7 separate regions of the Homo sapiens genome follow, and regions 2, 3, 4, 5, 6 and 7 are each linked to region 1. Evidence: promoter capture Hi-C in 16 types of primary human blood cells and fetal thymus (Javierre and others, 2016). All regions are on one chromosome and are shown on one strand. Each heading gives the region's core, a stretch centred on a gene start or on the middle of the fragment in contact. The rest is flanking DNA. Distances are from core to core; before and after follow the strand shown.

Region 1 (3,378 bases), core at 150-2,649:
AAGTTTCTCTTAAAAACACAGAAGACCACCCTTAAGAAATGCTCTTAGAAATAGTTCCTAACCTCAGATGACTTAGCGAAAGCTCCGTTTAACTGGCAGTCTAAATTTAGGGAGCATTACCGAGCCTATCTTGGGCAGACAATCGTTTAGGAGCTGTCACATAACCTCTAGACTTACGCTCCAATTTTCTAAAGAACAATTTCTCTCATAACAAACCAAATCAACCACCAGGAGCGGGTCCGTAAAGACGATGTCTGGGCAAGAACGAAATCTAATCCCGGAAGTGCCTTTTCCTCATCTTAGCCGCACCCTCGTTACGTGGCTCTCCAAAACTCCAAAGTCGGAGTACCCTAGACATGGAACAACCTCCAAAAAGTTTCAGGCCTAGCCAAGGTTGGGACTAATACGCCGCGAAATAATCGGGGAGATATGAGAAGTCTGTGGCTGTGAGACTGTGCGCGGTTAACACCGCTGCCCCTTTTGCCCAACCCCTAGAAAGTTCCCCAACTCTGACTGCCCCCCAGTGCGAGGGCCGCTACCAGTTCTAGGGTGAGTCCGGCCTCCCTGCCCCGCCCCGGCGCCTCAGACCCTCTCTACACGCCCGCCCCACAACCCCGCGTCGCCCGCAAAGTTCAATGTGTACCGGAGGTTAGCGGAGGGAGGCAGAATCCGGAAAGAGAGACTCCGCCAGTGGATAGCGGCGGTTGGCCATAACCTACTCCGACCTCCAGATACGCGGGAGGTGGGCGGCGCTGCCCTCAGTCGGTGGGTCACTCACCCCTCGCTTCAGGCAAGCCCCTCAGCGACGTCTCTCCTTGCCGACTGCGGCCATCTTGTATATGGAATGTCGGGGACCTACGTCATCACGCTGCGTCCTGAGACGCCACCAAGCGACCGGAGGGGCGGAGAGAGTAGGATGCCTGTCAACCAATGGGAAGAAAGCAGAGCTCTCAAAAGAGGAACGAGCCGCCGCTCTCCTCCCCGCCCGCCCCGCGGGTCAGTGGCTGCTGCTTACAGAGGGAGGAGCCAGCCACAGGGCCCATCCCGTCGGTCCCGCCCCTCGGGGCGAAAAGGCATTCTGGAGCAACCGAACCTGCTAACGGAACTTGGGCGCGTAGGCGGGGCCCGGGTCGAGATTCGTCCAATCAAAGCTCTGGCGGGGGCGAACGCAGCCAGTTGCGACATCGTGGTTGGCGGCGGCTGAGCCGGCCGCTCTTGCCCCCGGGAGCTGCCAGCCCACTGGCTGGGGAGGACCCCGAACGGAACGCCGGCTGGGTGGCGGGGCGGGGCCGCGCCCATGCGTCCGAAGCGTGGGCCAATGAACGGCGGCGGCTGCGGCCCGGGGGCGGGGTCCGGGGCGGGAGGAGAAGCGTTGGGCCGCGGTCGCGGGGCCGTCTCAGGCTGCCGTCCCGCCCCTCCCGTCCGGCCGCCGCCGCCGCCACCGCCGCCACCGCCTGGGGGTTGGTTGAGGCGGACGGCGGGGTCCGGGCCGGAGTACGTCGTTCCCGCTGCGCTAGGGGAAGCGGGCAGGTGAGTGCTGGCGGCGGTCTCTGCGCCCGCGCGGCCCGCGGGGGAAACTCGCGCCGCGTCTCCGAGCTCTGCGAGGCCGTCCCTCGCCCTGGCCAGCGCCCCTCGGCCGAAGTCCGGCCCGCGCCCCCGCCAGGGTCCCCGCCGGCCGCTGTGGCCCCGGGGCTTGAAGGGGCAGGTGTGCGCTCGGGGGCCAGGGCGAGGAGGGCCCGGCGGGGTCGGAGGGCGCCGGTCGGCCTCTGCCCGGGCGCCCTGCGGGGCGAGAGGCGCGCGCTCGCCGCTGCCCTGTCCCCTCTGGCGCCCACGCTCCCGGGCCCCGCGCCACCCGGTCTCGAGGTGGTGCCAGGTGCAGGCAGCGCTCTCCCCGAGCTTGCCCCGCTGTCCCCGGCCCTCGCGCCTGCTCTCGGGTGGGGCCCGGGCCCCTCGCGCTAGTCGGCTCGGCTCTGCGCGCGGCCGGGTCGCGCTCCCATTTCCTTCCTTCCTCCCGTCACCCCGCTGCTCGGGGAAGGCTGTGCGGTTTTATGTTCCTCTCTGCGAGTTCTCGGTGCCCACCAGGGTGCCCGGGGACCAGCCCCCGCCTCCTCCCGCGCCGTCCAGTTAGGAAGACGGACGTAGGAAATAGGTCGTCTTTCTTCCCACGCGCCCCTGGCCGTGCTCCACACGCGCAGTGCCCTACTAGGGAGAGGCAATTCGGTGCTTTAGAGTTTGTCATTCCGGCGTTAACTCTTCCTCCTCGTGGCTCCAGCCCGGCGATGCAACTCTTGTCTTTTCCCGGTCTCCACTTGGGAAAAGGAGCTGACAGTGACGCGCGCCCCTGGCTGCGGGGCTCACCCCTGCCCGGCCGGTGTTGGGAGGAGGGCATTTCAGTGTTGCAAAGGCATTCGCGGGTTAGGACCACTCGGACCGTGTTATTTTGCTTTTCTAAATAAATAAGGTGATGTTTCAAAAGCAAAAATACTTTTAAAGTATGCTGACAAATCAATTTTGCTTTTAAGAATCCTCGAAGAGTTACCCCATCTTCGTAGCCTGATTGTGGTGCTGATGAGGCCACTATAAATGCGTTTGTCAGAACTCAGAACCGGACACTGAAAAGTGTGAATTTTATCTTATGTAAAATATACCTCTCCCTCTCCCGTTTTTCTTCTTGAAATGACCTTGCCAGTATTTCAAAACTGAACTAACCAGTAATAATCTCGGAGAAGTGTTTATTATTTTAAGCGAATACATTTAACCCAAGAATATAGCAAAATAAAGCAGTCTTCCTCTCCACTGTTAAAATTTGCCAAGACTTGCTTGAACCTTGCTGTATGTACTGTGTTTATACGGGCTACCATGCGTGAAAGTCCAGCAGTACTGGATTAGTCCCAAGGGCTGCCGTGATTGATACTTTGGTGAAATTCCAACAGTTTACCGAGGAGTTTTTCTTCGGCCTAAGAAAGTAGTTTGCAAAGCCAAGTTCTCAAACAGCTACAGAACCTCTTTATTGGGACCCCAGACAACCTTGGATTTTAGCCTTCTGCTACCCCTTTCCTGTCTGCCCTCCAAGTGATTGTAAGTTAATATCTGAAATGGAACTGTAGTCTGAAGGAGTAAAATGGTTGCTTCTCCAGTGTGCTAACATCTCAGTGCTTTTTTTTCCTGGAATTGGAGTGGTGTTGGATTTGAAGATTAGAACATCTTATGTCTGTATGTACGGTTATAGCGAAAGCTTCTCGTAAGAGCACAGTGACTGTCAGTAAGAAAGTGATGGCTGCTGCGCTGCTCTTCCGTGCCGTGGACATTTAGGCCACATTTTAAATGATAATTAAGCTTTTGCTTTAGAAGCCACTGGATAATGAGAAAAATATGGAG
Region 2 (3,743 bases), core at 996-3,495, 2.7 Mb after region 1:
ATTATCAGTGATTAGAGAAATGCCCACGAAAACCACACTAAGATCTTCTATACAGCCACTAGTGATTAATTTTTTGTAATATTTAACTGACAATATCAAGGGAAGCAAAGCTGCAGAGTAACCGGAACTTTCATATGTTGGTAAAAGTATAAATAGGTACAACAAGGATGAAAAACAATTTGGCAGTGTCTATTAAAACTAGACACATGGCCAGGTACAGTGGCTTACACCTGTAACCCCAGCGCTTAGGGAGGCCGAAGCAGGCAGATCACTTGAGGTCAGGAGTTGGAGTCCAGTCTGGCCAACATGGAGAAACCCTGTCTCTACTAAAAATACAAAAATGAGCCAGGCGTGGTGGCAGGCGCCTATAATCCCAGCTATTTGTGAGACTGAGGCAGGAGAATCACTTGAACCTGGGAGGCAGAGGTTGCAGTAAGCCAAGATCATACCACTGCACTCCAGCCTGGGTGACAAAGGGAGACTTCGTTTCAGAAAAAAAAAAAAAAAAAAGAAAGCAAGCAAGCAAGCAAGCTAGATGCATATACATTTTGACCAGGAATTCTACTCCTACATATATACCCAACCAAAATGAATATAAAAGTATGCCAAAAGATACATACATATACATAAGTATATGATTATAGCAACATTGTTCATAATTGCCTCAAAATAGAAACTATTCAAATACCTAAAATGGAATGAATAAATGAATTTTGCTATGTAATTTGTGGTAGTTTTTAAAAATGACCACAAATTCTTTGACACACCTCTCATAAAGACATGAGGTCTATGTCCCCTCCCCTTCAATCCAGGCAGGCTGTGTCTTTGTCAACCAATAGAGTATGGTGGAGGTGAGATTATATGACTTCTGAAGATAAGCCACTCTCAGGAAGCTTCCTCTGGACACTCAGCCAACATGCTGTGAAAAGCCAAAACCTCCTGACCCCACATGTAGGTTTGGTCAATAGTATCAGATGATCCCAGTCTTCTAGACGTTCTAGTCAAGGTACTCAGCCAACATGCTGTGAAAAGCCAAAACCTCCTGACCCCACATGTAGGTTTGGTCAACAGTATCAGATGATCCCAGTCTTCTAGACGTTCTAGTCAAGGTACCATACAGGAAAGTGGAGAAGCCTCTAAATGATTCTAGACCCCAAGCATTGTAGGGCAGTGATAAGCCATAACCACCAAATTCCCAATCCACAGAATCCATGAGCATAATAAAATGGTTGTTATTTTACACTAGTAAGTTTGGAGTGGTGTGTTACGCAATAACCAATAATCAAAACTAGTGTGTTATGCAGGGATAGATAACCACAACTACAGAGCTATTTTTAAAAATAACAAACTACATGCAACAACATGAATGAATCTCAGACACAACATCGAGTAAAAGAAGTCAAGCAAAAAAAAAAAAAAAAAGTCCAGAGGGCATTATTCCATTTACACATGAGTTCAAAACCAGGTAAAACTATAGTTATGTAAGTCAGAATCGTGTTTACCTTGGGTGGGAGTAACTACTGTCTGCAAGATATCCCCACATAATCTGGGCTTCTGAGGGCTAGAAAATGAGTATCTTGATCTGGGTAGTAGTGATTACAGGGTGTTCACTTTGTAAAACTTTAAAAATAATTGAGCTTGATGCTTCTGCACCTTTTTGTTACACTTCAAAAAAATTTTTTTAATCAATGGAGCTTGGTAACCCAAAGAGGCAAGGGTATGAGGGAGAAATAAAGGATGACTTCCAAGTCTTCAGGAATGACTGACTAGGCAGTTCCATAAACTGAACAATTAAACAAAAACAGGGGCAGAAAGCAGGGACCATGTCCTATTCATTTTTTATTCAAGTATCTACCACAGTACTTAACACAGAGTCACTCCAGCATTACAAGATACTCCTATTATTTTCATCCCAACTTTTTGACCACCACTTCTTGGTCTCCTTTCTTACTTCCTTTCTGCCCAGCTGCCTCTTAATATTGGTATTACCCAGGCTTCCATACTCAATCTCTTTTCAATCACATGCACACACACACACACACACACACACACACACACACACAGAGGGAGAGAGAGAGGGAGAGAGGGAGAGAGGGAGAGAGACAGAGAGAGAGGGAGGGAGAGACAGAGAGAGAGACAGAGAAAGAGAGAGACAGAGAGAGTGACTTCTTTCTCTTGTATTTCCAATCTCAGTGCATAGCATCATCACATACATGTTCTTTTAGGCTAGAAACTGCCAATTAAACCAAGAACTAGGATTCCAAAATATCTTTAAAAGTTGCAGTTAGTTAAATTCAATAAAAAGAAATTTAACAAGACAAACATAAGCTCCCATGGTTGGACCCCAAAACTAATGCATACAAACAGGATGAAAAGACATAGCTTAGATAGATGCAGGGATTTTATTCAACTTTATGTTCAATGTATGATGTGGTCACAAAAGGATATAGCTAATATTAATAAAATTATGTAGAAGAAGGAAGGTGATATTCTTCCCTTAACTCACAGAAGAAAAGTGTTATATCTAGAACAAGAGATACAACTCTATTTCTCACGTATCAAGCCATGTCTGGAGCACAGAATTCAATTCAAAGCACTACAGTTTAAAATGAAATTTTTTTAAAAAGAGGAAAGCCACCAATGTGGTAAACTGACATGAAACCATGCCATGTAAGGAATAGCTAATGAACTGGAGATGTTTCAAATCAAAAAGACTGAGAATACTTGATGACTATTTTCACATATTTGAAAGGATGTTACGTGGAAGAGGGATTCAGCCTGTTCCACATTTCTCCAAAAGGCAGAAGTGAGTAGAAGAAATTAAGTAGACTTCCACTCAATGTAAGAAAGAATTTTCTAATGGTCAAAACTTTAATAAAAATAGGATAGGCTGTCTCTAGAGCAGTGGTTCTCAACCAGAGATGATTTTGTCTCTGTAGCCAGAGATGCCACTAAACATCCCACAGTGCAGAGAACAAACAGTGACCCATGTAAAATGTCAACAGTCCCATGGTTGAGAAATTCTGCCCTAGAGATAGTGAGTTCTCTGTCGTTGGAGGCATTTCATCATAGACCAGACCATGTGATGATGTCACAAGAATGGTGGGCCAGGAATGGTGGCTTGTCATTCCAGCTACTCAGGAGGAGGATCATTTGCTCCCAGGAAATCAAGGTGGCAGTGAGCTATGATCGCACCACTGCACTCCAGCCTGGTTGACAGAGCGAGAGGAAGGGAAGGAGGGAAGGAAGGGAGGGAGGGAGGGAGGGGAATGATGGGAAGTGAGAGTGAATTGAAAAAAGTTTTGTTTCAGATACCTCTCCAGAGAAAAATACCTTCAGGTATATCAAAGTGAAAATGATGATGATGACAAACATTTATTGAACACTTACTGTGGGCCAGACATTACACCAAATGACTCATGTATACAGTTTGCAGTTAATTCAACAACTCTAAGATAGGTATTATTTTACCTTGATTTGATGCTAAATTGAATTGCTCTAATGTCACACAGCAGTCAATATTTGAACTAGATCTACCTGACCCAATTTTATATGTCACTGTCCAAAGCATAAACATCAAATGACTTTCAAAGCTTTCACACTCTGGAAAAGAAATGAACAAGCACATATTCCACAAGTATCAGGACAATGTCTGAACAGGTTTGTACTCACTGTAAACCTAGCTGGCTAGGAGAAAGAGGAAAGGATTATTTGAAGTAGTCCTGTGATGAAGAAGAGAACAA
Region 3 (3,351 bases), core at 650-3,149, 3.0 Mb after region 1:
TAGTCTCTGTTTTCAATGACAATCTCAAATTTAGTCTGGGATTCAGATCCTTAAACAACAAGTGCAAAGTAGAAGTTTGGGAAAAAAACCATTAAAGAAACAAAGATAAAATCATGACTATGCCAGAAGGTGTACACAGTAAATGATCGGAAAGGAGAGGCGTAATCTAGGCAGACGACTAACACACAAAAGGACAGAACATCATATTTCCATTGGTGTTTTCCTTAAATAGTTAATGTTTAAGTACTTTGCATCTCAATTTAATTTTTTTTAATAGAGTCAGGATCTCACTATGTTGCCCAGGCTGGTGTCGAACGCCTGGGCTCAAGCAATCCTCCCACCTTGACCTCCCAAAGTGCTGGGATTACGGGCATGAGCCACCACAGCCCGCCTGTGTCTCAATTTATACAAAACTCATCAGGCACTACTGATTAATCCCCACCTAGTGATATTAGGCATTTGGAACAAGTTGTGGCCCATGATATTAACAGAGTCAACTGCCCCAATTTATAGCTACTACTTAACAGAAAACACTTTATTATTTGCATGATAGAGTTAAAACTGAAAGCCAAACTTGCTAAATATTCTTCTTTGAAACCAATCAGATAAACTACAGTTAACTTATTTAAAGTAACAATTCATCACAGTAGAATTTGCTGTTTAAAGGTCTTAACCTTAATGTGCTCATTCAAAGGACATGAACAGAAAAGATACAAGGGATCTCTCTAAAGTATCTCAATGTGCATTAAATATTAATTATTAGCCAAAATAATACAATCTCCTTTTTCACAAGGTATACGGCATGATAGTAGCTTACAGGCAAGATTATCGCCAAAATAATCTATTTGCTAAGAAATTAAAACGATGGTTAACTGGCCCACCGTAAGGTGTTCTGTGTAAGTGGTACTAAAAATATTTAGATCCCACTATATTCTTAAAAACGTACTGCAGGTGGGCCATCCAGCCAATATTTAGTAAAGCAGCAGCAGAGGCTCAAAGATGATGTTAATAGTTTGTTTATGCTCAAGGGGAATAAAGTATGTATGATAAAGCCCAAGGCCAAACTGAAAATTCAAGGTTGCTTATGCAGAGAAAGGGTACTTGCTGTTCAATTACTACAATGGCCAAGTTATTTTTCCTCACTTCCAAAGGGTACTTCCAACTGCCCCTTTGCGCACAAGCGCACGCGCGCGTGTGTGTTGTGTCCCTCTCTCTCATATGGCTAGGAGAAACTTAAAAAAAAAAAAAAAAGCCAAATTGTACACTGCTACATCAACTTGCCAAGTACAACTTGAAAATGAAAGAAATGTAAATTTAATAAAGTATGAAACAGGACCTGAAAAAGTACGAAAGAGTGTGAAAATGTATCAGAAAATAGTCAAGATTATAGTAAGTCATAGTATTACAGACACTAATTTCAGGAAATGTAATTTAAATGTTTCTAATGATCAAAATGACAAACACTATTCTTGATCAACCTCAAAATTATAAAAACTGCCGTAAAATCCAAGAATCCAATTTCTGGACAAAATATAGAGGGAATAAAAATTTGAAAAATAATTCTGTAACAAAAGAGGAAGAAAGAAATCTAACAGAATGCCTTTATTTTTTCTTTCCCAAATCCTTAGGTTTCCACAAATGAGATTGCTATACAGTTCAGCAGGCCTACATACAATCCAAAGATTAAAAAAAAAAAAAAAAAAAAGCAACTCCCACAAAAGGTACTGGCCACAACAAAGCGGCGTCTAAGTGGCAAATCTGTGCATGGCTTTAAATAAGAATATATATGCAAATAAAGCCACTGAAAGTAGTCGTGTGCCACGTTAACAGAATTCTTCAGTCAATGACAGACCACACATATAACAGTGGTCCCATAACAGCATAATACCGTATTTTTACTATTCCTTTTGTGTTTACATACATTTAGATACACAAATGCTTCCTAATGTGTTACAAGTGCCTACAGTATTCGGTACAGTAACATGCTGCCACAGGTTTATAGCCTAGGAGCAACAGGCCATATCATTGGTGCATAGGCCTAGGTGCATAGCAGGCTATACCATTTAGGTTTGTGTTAAGTACACTGTTCCCACAATAAAATCTGAAAAATAACACATTTTTACAGAATATATCCAATCATTAAGCAATGCACAAGATCTCAGGTTCTATAGTATGTTACATTCTGTGTATACTACAAGTATACACTATATGTTACTTTTGTTTATATACTTTTGTATACATTTTTATTATGTAAATACTTTGAGATTTACATGTTATACACACAAAAAAAATTGAGCTTGAAAATTAATTCTACTTGAAACTATACAGAGATTCCAACTGGCCAGGCATGGTGGCATGAGCCACCTGTAATCTCGGCAATTTGGGAGGCCAAGGTGGGATTGCTTGAGCCCGGGAGTTTGAGAGCAGCCTGGGCAACGTGGCAAAACCCTGTCACAGTAAAAAATACAAAAATTGGCCACGTATGGTGGTGCGTGCCTGTAGTCCCAGATACTTGGGAGGCTGAGGTGGGAGGATCCCTTGAGCCTGGGAGGTCAAGCCTGCAGTGACCCATGATCACACCACTGCATTCCAGCCTGGGCAACAGTGAGTTCCTGTCTCAAAAATAAATAAAGACTCCAACTGAGCTAACCACACATGGTTCCCTACAGTGTCCACAGGAGATGGTATAGTGTACTGGAATGACAATGCAACACAGAATCCAGAGCTGATTTAAGCCCCAATCTACAATTTAGTACCTTTATGACCTTGGTCAGGTATTCTTTTGAGCCTCAACTTTAACCAACTTTTAGGGGAACCAATTACCTCCTATAATGTTGCTGCTTTGTAAATCATAAACTGGCATTGTCCAATTATTTAAAAGCTGCTAGGTAATTAGAACCCTGAACATACAGAATAAAAGAGACACACACACCCTCCCAAAATGAGAACTAGCTAAGAAGCCAAATGGTCTCATTTTACCTGAAAGAAGCTAGCTTTATAAACTTGCCTAGATAAAACTGAAGATGAAATTTAATTGTAATGTTAACCTAAAGTTGACTTAGTTACCCAAGAATAGAATGTTCTGATGAGCCAAAACATTTTCAAAGTTGTTATCAAGCCAGAACTGGCTTCTGCCTTAAGAAGGTGAGGAAAACAATCAGGGATAGGAACTGAGTAGGCTCATAAATTTACTCAACTCCAATACCTTGCCTTCCAACTTCTCTACCAAAAAATATGGACTGAAAACATGTTTAAGGCAGAACACCACATCTCAAAACCATAATCAACATTTACTGAGCAGCAATTCACTACAAAAACTCCAAATTTTAAAATCTGAGAATCAAAATCTCC
Region 4 (3,351 bases), core at 244-2,743, 2.8 Mb before region 1:
CGCAGAGCAGAGGCTTTGCAGATAGCTGCCCCCAGATGGCACCTTGCAGCCTTCTGACCCAGACCAAAGTCCAAAAAGGTTGACTTACCCAAGGTCACACCTCTAGATAGTGATAGTGTGGCATCTGGACAGAATCACACTGGTCTTCCTAAACCTTAGCAAGACAACTCTCCAGTCTTGATGATTAACTGGATACAACCCTAAGCAGCTAACATCAGTCAAAAAAACTCAACGAGTGAAGGTTCCTGATTCTATTCCCTAACCCGTTTCTTCTAGTGGAAAAAGCTGTCTTCTTTTGGCAATTTTGGGGTGAGACTAATTTTGTTTACAACCCCAGCGCTGAAATGGGGTGGAATTTTACAGATGCCGTGTAGGCCCTCTGGCTTCAGGCGCTATGCTTCACCCTCCGGAGTTGGGCGACCGTCTTCTAGTTATCACCCCCCTAGCAACCAAAAGGTGTGTGGCCCAGGAAATAAACCCACTGGGAAAGGATGTTTTGTAGTATACAGAGTGCTTTCACATATTCCAAACATTGTGTATCAGGCACTGTGCTGGGTACTGCGGTTACAAATCAGTCACTATCACCCAGGATGTTAAGTCCTGCAGCGAACTAGTGTATTGTGCTTGACTTTGTTCCAAGCCTGGGCCTTGGCACCTTACAACTGAAAAGCTAAGTTGGTTCCTTTTAATTCATTTATGTTTCAGCTCCAGTGTCTGGCCTACGGGACCACCCACTCTAAAGCAGCCCCCGTCAATCCCAGAACCTGCCTTATGTTCGTTCTTCAGCAAGTGTGTTCAAGGCTTCACCTCCTGCACATAGTGGGGAGTGCTGGGAACACGGTCTCTAAGTGCTCCACAAAGGCTGAACCAGCGGTGAAAGGCCTGTAAGAAGAGCTAGGGAGCACGCAAAAGCCCCCAGCAGGGCTGTGAAGGCAGAGAAGGCACGAGGGCGTTCCAGGCACAGGGCCCAGCGTGAGCAACCGCTCCTAGAGTGAGGCTCCTGGGGTGAAAATGCCAGGGTGGTGACAGGTGGGGGCCGAACGCCGTCCCTAAGAAGCTCAGCCTGGGGACGCCCTGAGTCTTAACCCGGGCGGATACTGGCCTCCCCGGACAAGCAGCTACCCCGCCGCGGGGCGTCGGCCCCCTTCGGGCCTCAGTTTCCCCACGTCCCTCCCGACGCCTCACCTGGGGCGGGAGCAGGCGCGGCAGGCGCGGGGGCTCGGTGCCCCGGCCCCGCTGCAGGGCGGCCTGTTGGGCCGCGTCCCGCAGCCGCCGCGCCGCGTCCCGCAGCACGAAGGGGGGCGGCGGCGGCGGCGGCTGCGCCTTCGTCACCTGCTCCAGGACCTGCCGCAGCTGCTCGGGGCCCAGCGGGGCCACACGTGCGACGCTGCCGCTCTGGCCCGGAGGAGCCGGGCCGCCGCCGCCGCCGCCATCCTCGCTGCCGCCCCCAGCCTCCGGCTCCGCATCCGCCATGGCGGCCGAGGCGGGGACTCGAACCCGGGTCGCTGAGCGACGGCGTCTCCAATGTACGTCACCTAGGAGAGGGGCGGGCTACGAGTGCCTCGCAGGCCAAGACACCTAGGAAGGCGACCGTGTCTGGCCGGGAAAGTCGTGGAGTGCCCCGCCCCAGCCGACAACCGCCGCGGCTCTTAGGGCTGATCAGCAGAGCGGACCCCCCTTATTTTCCTTATTGCCTGTCACGGATGTGTTTAAGACTCACCTTCTCTGGGAGCTGTCCCGGATCTCCCAGGGGGAGGTCTTCGGGGTTTCAGAGCCCCTGGCCCAAAAGTTACCACAATATCCAAGTGTTCTGACGTCATCATGCATCCGAATCAGCGGAGGATGCTGTCTGGAGATGCAGAGTACTGTGCCCACCCCTAAACATTTGGATTTATACATCTGGGAGGGGACCACAGTTTGAATTGTTAACGAGAGTGTTTCCCAAATTTTTGCCTTGTCACCGTAGCTTCTCTCTACCCACCCACCCAGATTGGGTGCACCTTGAAGGGAGAGATGATATATTACACAATCGGTGCCCAGCACAGGCCCTGCCCAGAACACAACGCACGCTCAGGGCATGAATGATGGATGGATGAATATGAATAAACGAATGAGTGAACGAATGAATGAACCCACCCTCTCTCTATCCATCCAGCTCCACTGCCCCATCTTCCTCAGCCTGATCGCCTCTCCTTCTTACGGTTGAGGCTCTGTGCGCCCTCCGAATCTTGTAGCTGCAGGTGTGTACACATGTCCCAGCTCCTTTCCCCAGGGAGAGCAGGAGGTCCACTGGTCCACAAACCCTTCTTAAGCACCTGGTGGGTGAACCGCTGTTTCCGCCCTGGGGGGTATACAGTCTAGGTGCCGACCCCCAAGGAGGAAACTTCCCAAGGGGGAAGGAGGAAACTGGCATTTGCAGCACAGTATGATGAGCGCCGAAGCCGGTAAAGTAAGGCTGGCGGCCTGGGTGGCGTCAGAGAAGGTTCTGGAAGATCACCACCATCCTCATCAATACTCACATTGCATTCACGATGATCCCTTCCGTGTTATTTTTTAATGGTGAATTTTATATTATGGGTATCTTACCACAATTTTTTTTTTTTTTTGAGACAAGATCTCACTCTGTCACCCAGGCTGGAGTGCAGTGGCACAATCTCAGCTCACCGCAACCTCCATCGCCTGGGTTCATGCGGTTCTCCTGCCTCAGCCTCTTGAGTAGCTGGGATTACAGGCGTCCGCCACCATGCCTGGCTAATTTTTGTATTTTTAGTAGAGACGGGGTTTCATCATGTTGGTAAGGCTGGTCTTGAAACCCTGACCTTAGGTGATCCGCCCGCCTCGGCCTTCCCAAGTGCTGAGATTACAGGTGTGAGCCACCACACCCGACCAGATTTCAGGAATTCACATGCCTTCTGCTCAAAATAATTTTCATGCCACCGTGGCATATTCTAAACCCCTTCAAGCTCAGGAAACTTGAGGGCAGCAACCTCCACCGATTCCTCCATGCTGTGTCCCTGCATCTAACAACGTGCCTGGCACGACTATTAAAAGATGTGACATCCATCCTGTGTACAGATGTCTATTTTAAGTGTCAGCTGCCCCAGGCTCTCCTAACTTTGCTTATAATAGCAGCAGCGCCATCGGCTGGCATTTATTGAGAACTTTTACTACACCCTGGGCACATACCAAGGTCTGTAGATGTTGAGCTGCTTCTTATTTAGGTCAGAACTAGTAGCTGTTTCCACTGTAGAATTTTCAAAAACAGGTGGAGCCCTTGCCGGATCCTGACATAAAATGGCATCAACCTTATACAACCGGCTTTTGTTCAGCTGAGCACACCTGACCACCCTA
Region 5 (3,520 bases), core at 957-3,456, 2.7 Mb after region 1:
GACACAAACTTATGGTGATAGGACAAGGGGGCGATGGCATTATGAGGTGGAATTTCTGCTCCCACCGGCCAGTTTTCATGAGGAAAGTTCGATTCCACACCCCAGGGGATGTACTCTTGGAAAGAAATTGTAGCCTCTCTCCCACTCACTCCTCCTGAGTAAAGAGAAGTGACTTGCCAGATCAGTAAGACGGAGAAAGCATCCAACGTGAGGCTGAGTTCCCCTGACCCACCCACTCTCTCACTGTCTCTCTTTATCTGCTTGCCTGCCCCTGCATCCAAGGTGTAAGAAAGCTTGGGTTAGGCCCAAGACCTGCCTTCCTAACTAGATCGGGAAGGACAAATCTCTCTCTGGAGGCTCATAGGTGTGGGGCAGGGACTCCTTGCATTTGGCTGTGAATGGCTGGCCTCAGCAGAGTTGCCCCAAAATTTAGATCTGGAGCCAAAGTCTAATGAAGCTCAATTGGCCACAGGTCAACCCATATTCTCCAATCAAGCTTTACCTATAATAAGGCTAGCATTTTGATATCATCTGTGTGGTTCTATGCCTATACTTCCATTTATTTCCAAACTCAGTGGGAAAGAAAGAATGTTATTCAATCACCAGTAGTTATGACAGTGGTGAGAGGGAGGAAATGAATGAGCAAAGAGGAGAAATAGCCAACCTAGTGCAGGGAAGGGGCTGGTGGGTAAGGCTGGACCCTTGAGTGAGGTTCTCAAAAAGGAGTAGATATGACTCAAGCAAATAGGGATGGGAAGGGCATTCTTGGCAGGGAGAAGGGCATATGCAAAGGCATGGAAGTATGAAAGAAGCTCAGTGCATTTGAGAAATTGCTACCCTCATCTCTTGACTCTCCAGGGATGGCACCTGCTTAGCTCCGGCCTCTCTCTTTGGATGGATCTCTGTCTTCACTTCCTCATCTCCAGCCATACGTTAACCGTCTCTAACGCAGCATCTACCTCCTTCACACCACCAAAAGCATCCTTGATAAGGCCACCCATGACCACGTGGTACTAATTACAATTACCATTGTTCAGTTTTTATCTCACCAGGGCTCTTTCAACATTCACCACAATTGACCATTCTCTTCTTCTTCAAGTACTTTTTTCTCTTGGCTTCTATAACACTGCTTTGTCCTGATTTCTGTTTTTCTCTACGAAAACTCCTTATGCTAACATTTCTTCTTTGGCTCCAATTTCTAAGTGTTCAAGGCCCTTTTCTCTATCTTTATGTTAGAATTTTTTGAAGAGATGGAATCTTGTTCTATTGCCCAGGCTGGTCTCGAACTCCTAGGCTCAAGTGATCCTCCTGCCTCTGCCTCCCAAATAACTGAGATGACAGGTGTCAGCCACCGCGCCCAGCTTATGTTTGGATCTTTATGTTCAAATCTACGTGGATATCAGGGGGTGGAGATGAAAACTTAGGAATTATTAACATCTAGTTGCCTGCTGGAGATGGGAGTGGATCATTCATGAGGACGGATGAGCTACCCTAAGAAGTGAGTGCAGATTTAAAAAAAATCCTGCTAGGCGCGGTGGCTCACGCCTGTAATCCCAGCACTTTGGGAGGCCGAGGTGGGTGGATCACGAGGTCAGGAGGTTGAGACCATCCTGGCTAAGACGGTGAAACCCCAACTCTACTAAAAACACAAAAAATTAGCCGAGCGTGGTGGCAGGCACCTGTAGTCCCAGCTACTCAGGAGGCTGAGGCAGGAGAATGGCGTGAACCCGGGAGGCGGAACTTGCAGTGAGCTGAGATCGCGCCACTGCACTCCAGCCTGGGCGACAGAGAGTGAGACTCCGTCTCCAAAAAAAAAAAAAAAAAAAAAAAAAAAAAAAAAATCAGAGTCAGTGGTAATGGTGAAGTAGCTTCCATCATACTAACCTCCCACAGGACAGCAGCCAAAAGCAGGCAGAAACCAAAGGGGATTTGACCCTTGAAAGAAGGAGCCACACTGGGGGAGCGCCTTGGTTATTTGACTTTTCTACTGAGGACACTTCCCACTCTGCATGCCACAGGGTGGCTAGAACTCAAGAAGAAAACCAGCTGGGTGCGGTGGCTCACGCCTGTAATCCCAGCACTTTGGGAGGCTGAGGAGGGCGGATCATGAGGTCAGGAATTCGAGACCAGCCTGGCCAACAGGGTGAAACCCCGTCTCTACTAAAGACACAAAAAATTAGCCGAGCATGGTGGTGCGAGCCTGTAATCCCAGCTACTCGGGAGGCCAAGCAAGAGAATAGCTTGAACCAGGAGGCAGAGGTTGCAGTGAGCTGAGATTGCGCCATTGCACTCCAGCCTGGGCGATAGGGTGAGGCTCCATCTCAAAAAAAAAAAAAAAAAAAAAAAAAAAAAGAGGAAAACCACAGTTTTATTACCCTGAGGAGTCAGAGGATGGGGTTCTGAACTGCTAGAGCAATTGGAAACTGAGGGAAGGCAGACATCCCACAATGGCGGTAGCCAAGAGGGGCAGCCCTAAAACCCCCATATATACACCCCAAAATCACAGGCTGATTAGTGAATTGCACATGCATGAACAAGATTTCAAGGAGCCCAAGGGGGAAACAATAATTGGAAGGCTAAAAGAACAGTGCACAGATTTCAGCAACTGCCCACTGTTGGGGGAGACCAAGTTTGGGGTTTGAGTCCTGCCAAGTTAGAGGAGCTTAATAAACATTTCAGGCTGTCCATTGAAACCCTGCAAAAAGACCATGACTGAAGGTGAAAGGCTATGTCCAAGTTCTAAGGAACTAAGAAACAGAGATGCAATGATGTCAAGTAGTTGTTTTAGGCACATAGTTAATGAGTTTAGGGCTGGGATTCAAACCCACCTGGTCGGGCCTGTCGAAGTTGTCAGAATCAAAATGAAGTCATGGATATTAAGGAAATCCTAACAAAGACAGCTGGGGAAGGCCATAAAGAGAAGTTCCTCTTGCTTGTATGTCTTTGACTAAAAGCTATCACGAAAGACTGCAAAAACCACAATCTTGCGCAAAGGCCATTGCAGAAAAAATCCTTCTGCAAGGACATCTTCCCAGCAATTGCCTGTCTAACCTCAGATTGGCATCACCCTTGTTATTGATCTTTGTAGCCAAGGATAATTATTTCCAAACAGTTGTGTAATCCTCCTCATTTTTCTTCTTTAAAAACCTTTGTCTTCCTTTACCTTCCTGAGTATGCACGTAGTTTACCAGAGCATGCATTTCCCCATTCCAATGCTCTGTTCCCAAATAAAGTGCTTTTCTTTTAGCAAGCCTCCCTCTGGTCGTGATTTGGGATGACAGACCCTATAGCCCATGTCCTTGCCACTGCCCTCCACTGCCTCTGTCTCTGTGCCCTGCGTTTTTCCTTTAAAGCACCCATCACCAAATTCAATATCCAAATACAATTGCATATTTGGTGGTTTGTCTTCTGCACTAGGCGAAGATTCCTGGGCAGAGAGCTCACCTAGCCCCTGGCACACCCACGAAATATTTGTTGAATGAATAAATGAATCATTTGGTATGGCTGATTTACCAATGCC
Region 6 (3,441 bases), core at 316-2,815, 3.0 Mb after region 1:
GTTTAAGCCCACTGTTAGGAACTACTGCTCAGAAAAAAAAAAAAAAAATGATTCCTTTCAAAATATTACTGCTCATTGACAATGCATGTAGTCACCCAAGAGCTCTGATGGAGATGTATAAAGAAATTAATGTTTTCATGTTATTAACACAACATTCTGCAGCCCATGAATCAAGGAGTAATTTTGACTTTCAAGTCTTATTATTTAAGAAATACATTTCATAAAGCTATAGGTGGCATGGATAGTGATTCCTCTGATAGATATAGGCGAAGTAAATTGAAAACTTTCCAGAAAGGATTCACCATTCTATATGCCATTAAGAACATTTCTGATTCATGGGAGGAGGTCAAAATGACAACATCAACAGGAGTTTGAAAGAGGTTGATTCCAGCCCTCTTGGATGACTTTGAAGTGATTAAGACTTCAATGGATAAAGTAACTGCAGATGTGATGGAAATAGAAAGAGAACTAGAATTAGAAGTGACGACAAAAGATGTGACTGAATTGCTGCAATCTCGTGATAAAACATTAAACAGATGAGAAGTTGCTTCTTATAGATGAGCAAAGAGAGTGGTTTCTTGAGATGGAATCTACTAGTGAAGACACTGTGAACACTGTTGAAATGTACAACAAAGGATTTAGAATATTTAATAAACTTAGTTGATAAAGCAGTATCAGGATTTGAGAAGATTGACTCAAACTTTGAAAAAGTACTAATGTGGGTAAAATGCCATCAAACAACGTGACATGCTACAGAGAAATTTTTCTTTAAGAGTCCATCAATGTGGCAAACTTCACTGCTGTCTTTTTTTTTTTTTTTTTTTTTTTTAGATGGAGTCTCACTCTGTCACCCAGGCTGAAGTGCAGTGGCACAATCTCGGCTCACTGCAACCTCCACCCCCTGGGTTCAAGTGATTTTCCTGCCTCATCCTCCCAAGTAGCTGGGATTACAGGCACACGCCACCACGCCCAACTAATTTTTGTATTTTTAGTAGAGATGGGGTTTCACCATGTTGGCCAGGCTAGTCTCAAACTCCTGACCTCAGGTGATCCGCTTGCCTCAGCCTCCCAAAGTGCTGGGATTACAGGCATGAGCCTACTGTGCCCAGCCCATTGCTGTCTTATTTTAAGAAATTGCCATAGCTACCCCAACCTTCAGCAGCCACCACCCTGATCAGTCGTCAGCCATCAGAATTGAGGCAAGACCCTCTACCAACAAAAAGATTACAACTCACCGAAGGCTCCGGTTATTGTTAGCATTTTTTAGCAATAATTTTTTTTTTTTCTTGAGAAGGAGTCCCACTCTCTCGCCCAGGCTGGAGTGCAGTGGCACGATCTCGGCTCACTGCAAGCTCCGCCTCCCGGGTTCATGCCATTCTCCTGCCTCAGCCTCCTGAGTAGCTGGGACTACAGGCACCTGCCACCACGCCTGGCTAATTTTTCTGTATTTTTAGTAGAAACGGGGTTTCACCGTGTTAGCCAGGATGGTCTCGATCTCCTGACCTCGTGATCTGCCCACCTCGGTCTCCCGAAGTGCTGGGATTACAGGCATGAAGCAATAAAGTATTTTTAAATTAAGATAGGTACCTTGTTTTTTAGACATAATGCTATTGCACAGTTAACAGATAGTGTAAAATATAGTGGAAAAATAACATATGCACTAGGAAACAAAAAAATTGGGGTGACTTGCTTTATTACAATATTAGCTTTATTGTGGGGGTCTGGAGCCAAACCCTTAATATCTATGAGGTATGCCTGTGTATTTCTCCAGAGAAGACATCGAAATGGAAGCAAGTGCATTAAAAGATTCTTAGTCACAATATGATGCCACGTCACACCCACTATGATCACCATTAAAAAAATAAAAACACAGAAAATAACAAGTGTTGGTGAGGATGCAGAAAACTGGAATCCCTCATACACTGCTGGTGGGAATGTCAAATGGTGCAGCCACTGTGGAAAACAGTGTGGCAGTTCCTCAATAAGTTGAGCATAGGATGACCATATGACAGCAGTTCCACTCCTAGGTATCTAGCCAACAGAACTGACAACCTGTGTTCAAATAAGAGCTTGCACACAAATGTTCATGCCAGTTGTAGTCACAGTAGCCAAAAGGTGGAAACAACCCAAATGTCCATGAACAAATGAACAATTAAACAAAATGTGGTATGTTCATACAATGGAATAGTATTCAGCTATGAAAAGGAATGAAGTACTAACACATTGTATGACATAGATGAACCTCGAAAACATTTTGCTTAGTGAAAGAAGCCAGACACGAAAGACCACCCATTATATGGTTTTATTTATAATAGGTAAATCCATAGAGACAGAAAGCAGATTCGTGGTTGCCTGGAACTGGGGGGAGGGAATAATGGAGCGTGACTGCCTAATAGGTGCTGGGTTTCCATTTGGGGTGATGAGAAAGTTCTGGACTAGATAGTGGTGGCTGCAGATCATTGTGAATGAACTTAGTGCCACTGAATTATACACTTTAAAATGGTTACAGTGGTCAATTTTATGTTACATGTATTTTAGCACAAATAAAAAGTCGGGCAGTTATATTAGGTTACATTATTTAAAGAGATAAAATACATATGCCATTAAACCTAAACTAATTTCTCATTTAGGGTAATTCTAGGAATCTTATGGGATTTTTAGAACTGGAAAAGACTATAGGATTGATAACTTATGCCTATGTTATAAAGTGTGTTGAAAATATTTAGCAACTTCTCACTTATCACAAAGATTGGAATTATCCTGTTATGCAGATTTCTCCGCCTAAAGGTTTACAGTTCTCTCCGATTCATTGTCTGGGATCCTGACCCTGAACTCAAAGCAACCTTTCCCTAACCATTGCTTCATTTAAAAAAAAAAAAAAAAAAAGCCACCTTACAGGCACCAATCTTGTCTGATTTACTGTGAGTCAACAGGCATAAATCACTTCAATTTATTTCCATTTCTAATAACATTGTTATTGGGGCGATAACAAGTCATGTAAATTAGCCTACATGTTAGAATAATACATAGTCTACAATATATAGTCTGATTTTCTTCATGCTATAAATACCTATAAACATTAGTGTACAGAAGCGGTATATTTAGATCTGACTAAAGAATAAAATATTAAATCAGTATTTGTCTCATGAGCTATGCACAAATGTCTTTATCAATTTACATTTCAAATATAGTTTTAATGACATAGTCATGTCATATAGCTTTTAATAGAGATTCTAGTTTATAGAATATTTGTCTACAAAAAAAGAATTTTCTAAGAACTGGAAAAGCATTTTTCAAAGCAATTTTTCAAAGTATAATAAGTGATCTGTGGTTCTGTAAAGGTAGATAATACCAGATCTTTCAAGTTTCACTGTGCTTCAGGATTGTTCTTGAAGAGATATTCTGCCTACAATTTAAAAAAAGACAAGTCAACAGTTTACA
Region 7 (3,260 bases), core at 453-2,952, 2.7 Mb after region 1:
AAGGCTAAGGGAGAGTGCCCAAGAAAGGAACACTTCACTGGACAGACTGTGGCAGTGACCCACTGAGCGGTAGGGTAGTTCTCTGTAGGGCCAGTGAGCTACAGCTTATCCACAGGAATCTGCTGCCCACGAGATACTGGTGGGAGCAAGAAGCTGCCTACCAGGGTGCTAATGAAGCTTACAGGAGAGTAAGTAGAGCTGACAGCCACACCTTAAGAGATTAAGAAAAACAAACAAACGAACAAAAAAACAAGCACATGGCAACAAGAGAAGCACTTTCTCTGCTAAGTCTTGCAGTATCCCTTCCTCACCTTCTACTGACAAAATCTAACACTGTCCAGGAAAAGAAAAAATATTTAAAAGGTCTGGCTCGAGTATATAAATAGAGCAAAAAGGGGTGAATTTGGAGTTGAGAGGCAATAAATTACTAACTTGCACAAAGTAAACTGACAAAATTTTACAAACGTACATACACTTGTGCGACCACCAGACAGAACATTTTCATCACACCATAAAGTTCCCTAGTGCCCCTGCCTGCCAACACCTATTCCTGTTCTCCCAGACAAAGGCTTATTAATGTGCCTCTCAGGGTGTGCCCCTTTCTTTAGAGAACACAGTTCTGCCAGCTTTCCTGACATCTGTGTCTCAGGTTCCCTTTCAGCATCCTCCCATACCCTGTTTGACCTTCACTGAATTTGGCAGCTCCTTATTTTCTAGTTCAGGGCTACAGAAGCTTCTCAGTTTCTCAGAATATGAAATCACTGTTTCTCAATCTCCTTGTTGCTTTTCAGGCAATTTCTTAAAAGAGGAATTATTTAAAACCAGAAGTCCCTGCTCAAAGAAATAAAATAATCACAAGTATTTGCTTCAGTAAGTTAGTGAGTTTTCTGAAGAACTTAAAATACTAATTAGAATTAAACAATCACTTTAGTACATTATAGGTTTCTTCTAATAATGAAACCGATGCTTGCATTAAGGTTTCTATTAATGAATATACCGAAAGGCACAAACTTTAACAAAATTAAATCTTTCCACATAATTTCAGCCCCTCTGACTCTATGCAAGTCTACTTTTATAGTAGCCAATGCAACAGAGAGGTTTCAAAGAAAAAAAAGTTTAGCATTACATAATCTGACCACTTCTTTTCCTCTGATATTAAATGAAATGCAGATGCAACTGAAAAGCACATCAAGATGCAAATCAATACTGCCCTTTGCTGAAATCACTCATTGGTATATTCCATATTAGCATATTCACCAAAATTTAATTGTAAACAGAGTAATTATGGTACTAAAGTTATTAAATACACAAAGCAAGCTTGGAACTATACATATTCAAATAGAATTTCAGTGGCAGATCAACTTTTATATCTGCAACAATACCCTAATTAATAGTCAGCTCTGATGATAAAATGGTCCTCTGTTTTTCAGATAACATTCCAAAAAAAGTTCTGCTATGAATATTAAAATAAAGTTTTGTGAATAGATTTTTAAAAATTTCAATAGCTATATTTATCACAATATGGTACTGTATTTAGACAACTGGCATTCTTCAAGTCCTGGATTCAAATTTGGAATTTTTTTTTAACCTTCTGCTGAAGAGAGGAAAAAGGCTTGAATGAATCACAACAATGACACTTACACTTAATGAGCTCTATGAATTCATCATACACAAACTGGAAAATTACAATGCTGAATAAAGCTCGTTATATACTGAATGACTACTCATAAATTTTCCCCAAAATAGTTCTGCATGTAAACTCCTTTAGGGGGTCATGTATTTTTATGAAATTTTCTTTAAAGTCATAAACTTCTCTGATATGTTTTACACTGTATAGAGACACTCTGATTCAAGGATAATTCTGGACAAACTGGACTCCACCATTCTATTAACATGGAACCAACATATTTTTATCTCCATTCTTCCCAGCACAAAGCCTTTTCTCTCATTTAACCTCTCCTTATACATTGATTGACATTTTCCCCATACCTAAAGACCTATCTCTTCTGAAGTCAGATATGACCTGAAGTTTCAGTACTGTTTGTACCTCTTATTGCATGTGACAAATAACTTTCCCTATAAGCTTATAAGCTCCTCGTATATGAGAAATGTCTTAGTCACAATACATTGTAGTTAGCAGGAATTCACTAAATCCATAAAATTAAACAGCAAAAAAGTTTAGTATTTTTCCCCAACTACCAGATATCTAACTTTATGTTTAATATACATCACCCAACTGCAAAGGACAATGTCATTCCTCAAAAGTCCAGCAACCACCCTCTACAATGACTATGTCAAACTCTATTTATTCTTCCTCAAAACTCTAATTCCCCTTCCTAAGCCATAATTATCAACAGATGACCTACTCTAGTTTAGAGAGAAAACAGAAACTTCAGATGGGAATTCCCTATCTTTCTAAGAGCCACACCTACAAACCACCTGCACCCACTTCAAGCCAATCCTAGCTTCCTTCTCTCCTATCACATTGAAAGAAACTATCCTCCTCCTATCAAACATCAAGTCCTTCACCTTTGCTTTGGATCCCATCCCCTCCAACCTTCTCAAGACTTACACTATTAATTAATCCTTCTCTAATATATTCAATGTCTCCCTCAACTAGATCCTTCCCATCAGCTATTAAAAATGCTTATGGCTCTGCCATTTTAAAAAATTAATGTTTTTGGCCGGGTGCGGTGGCTCACACCTGTAATCTCAGCACTTTGGGAGGCCGAGGCGGGTGGATCACGAGGTCAGGAGATCGAGACCATCCTGGCTAACATGGTGAAATCCCGTCTCTACTAAAAATACAAAAAATAAGCCAGGCGTGGTGGTGGATGCCTGTAGTCCCAGCTACTCGGGAGACTGAGGCAGGAGAATGGTGTGAACCCAGGAGGCAGAGCTTGCAGTGAGCCGAGACGGCGCCACTGCACTCCAGGCTGGGCGACAGAGGGAAAAAAAAAAAAAAAAAATTAATGTTTTTAATCCCCCTCTGCTATCTCTGCTATCATCCTTTCTTTTCCCTTTCAATGCCAAATGTCTGTACTTGCCATTTCAATAATCGTCTGTACTTGCCAATATTTCCTTTCACCTACTTATCCAACTCACTCCGAGATCCGCCTTCATGATTCCTCTCTAATAACCCTTGCTGAGGTCACCAGTGACTTCCATGCTATGAAATCTAGCTGACACTGAATCATCTCATTTGCCTGCCCAGAAGCACTCAACACTGCTCATTCTTTCTTTCTTGAAACATTCTCTTC

What was found. Contacts are between HindIII fragments. The CHiCAGO score rates a contact against its expected background, and 5 or more counts as called.
Region 2: a fragment that was not itself captured here is called in contact with the fragment with the promoter of SETD3 in region 1 in 3 of 17 cell types (naive CD8 T cells, total CD4 T cells and naive CD4 T cells); the score reaches 10.9 in naive CD8 T cells.
Region 3: a contact is called between a fragment that was not itself captured here and the fragment with the promoter of SETD3 in region 1, in 13 of 17 cell types (naive CD4 T cells, naive CD8 T cells, fetal thymus and 10 more). The highest score is 21.5, in naive CD4 T cells.
Region 4: a contact is called between the fragment with the promoter of ZNF839 here and the fragment with the promoter of SETD3 in region 1, in 1 of 17 cell types (fetal thymus). The highest score is 5.3, in fetal thymus.
Region 5: a fragment that was not itself captured here is called in contact with the fragment with the promoter of SETD3 in region 1 in 7 of 17 cell types (total CD4 T cells, naive CD8 T cells, M1 macrophages and 4 more); the score reaches 6.9 in total CD4 T cells.
Region 6: a contact is called between a fragment that was not itself captured here and the fragment with the promoter of SETD3 in region 1, in 4 of 17 cell types (naive CD8 T cells, total CD4 T cells, erythroblasts and 1 more). The highest score is 10.0, in naive CD8 T cells.
Region 7: a contact is called between a fragment that was not itself captured here and the fragment with the promoter of SETD3 in region 1, in 1 of 17 cell types (fetal thymus). The highest score is 8.8, in fetal thymus.

The regions. Positions count from the first base shown.
Region 1 is chr14:99,478,880-99,482,257 of GRCh38, reverse strand. It overlaps SETD3 (SET domain containing 3, actin N3(tau)-histidine methyltransferase), which reads left to right and starts at 1,399. Exons shown (of 13, transcript NM_032233.3): 1 at 1,399-1,530. It overlaps CCNK (cyclin K), which reads right to left and starts at 849. Exons shown (of 11, transcript NM_001099402.2): 1 at 779-849. RefSeq lists enhancers at 589-958, 1,767-2,268 and silencers at 1,149-1,608, 1,719-1,918. The HindIII fragment of the contact is 7,554 bases long and covers 1-3,237 here.
Region 2 is chr14:96,806,338-96,810,080 of GRCh38, reverse strand. All of the region lies in intron 1 of VRK1 (VRK serine/threonine kinase 1), which reads right to left. Among named protein-coding and RNA genes, the nearest start is that of VRK1, 11 kb to the right of the region's middle. The HindIII fragment of the contact is 2,700 bases long and covers 896-3,595 here.
Region 3 is chr14:96,508,320-96,511,670 of GRCh38, reverse strand. All of the region lies in intron 1 of PAPOLA (poly(A) polymerase alpha), which reads right to left. Among named protein-coding and RNA genes, the nearest start is that of PAPOLA, 7.6 kb to the right of the region's middle. The HindIII fragment of the contact is 6,374 bases long and covers 1-3,351 here.
Region 4 is chr14:102,317,888-102,321,238 of GRCh38, reverse strand. It overlaps ZNF839 (zinc finger protein 839), which reads right to left and starts at 1,493. Exons shown (of 8, transcript NM_018335.6): 1 at 1,186-1,493. The coding sequence starts at 1,473. RefSeq lists an enhancer at 874-983 and silencers at 1,084-1,273, 1,334-1,433. The HindIII fragment of the contact is 5,518 bases long and covers 1-3,351 here.
Region 5 is chr14:96,783,438-96,786,957 of GRCh38, reverse strand. The region is part of intron 3 of LINC02299 (long intergenic non-protein coding RNA 2299); the gene reads right to left. Among named protein-coding and RNA genes, the nearest start is that of VRK1, 12 kb to the left of the region's middle. The HindIII fragment of the contact is 3,415 bases long and covers 499-3,520 here.
Region 6 is chr14:96,488,270-96,491,710 of GRCh38, reverse strand. It overlaps AK7 (adenylate kinase 7), which reads right to left. Exons shown (of 18, transcript NM_152327.5): 18 at 2,284-3,406. The coding sequence ends at 3,368. Among named protein-coding and RNA genes, the nearest start is that of PAPOLA-DT, 12 kb to the left of the region's middle. The HindIII fragment of the contact is 3,884 bases long and covers 1-3,441 here.
Region 7 is chr14:96,824,375-96,827,634 of GRCh38, reverse strand. The region is part of intron 1 of VRK1 (VRK serine/threonine kinase 1); the gene reads right to left. Among named protein-coding and RNA genes, the nearest start is that of VRK1, 29 kb to the right of the region's middle. The HindIII fragment of the contact is 766 bases long and covers 1,320-2,085 here.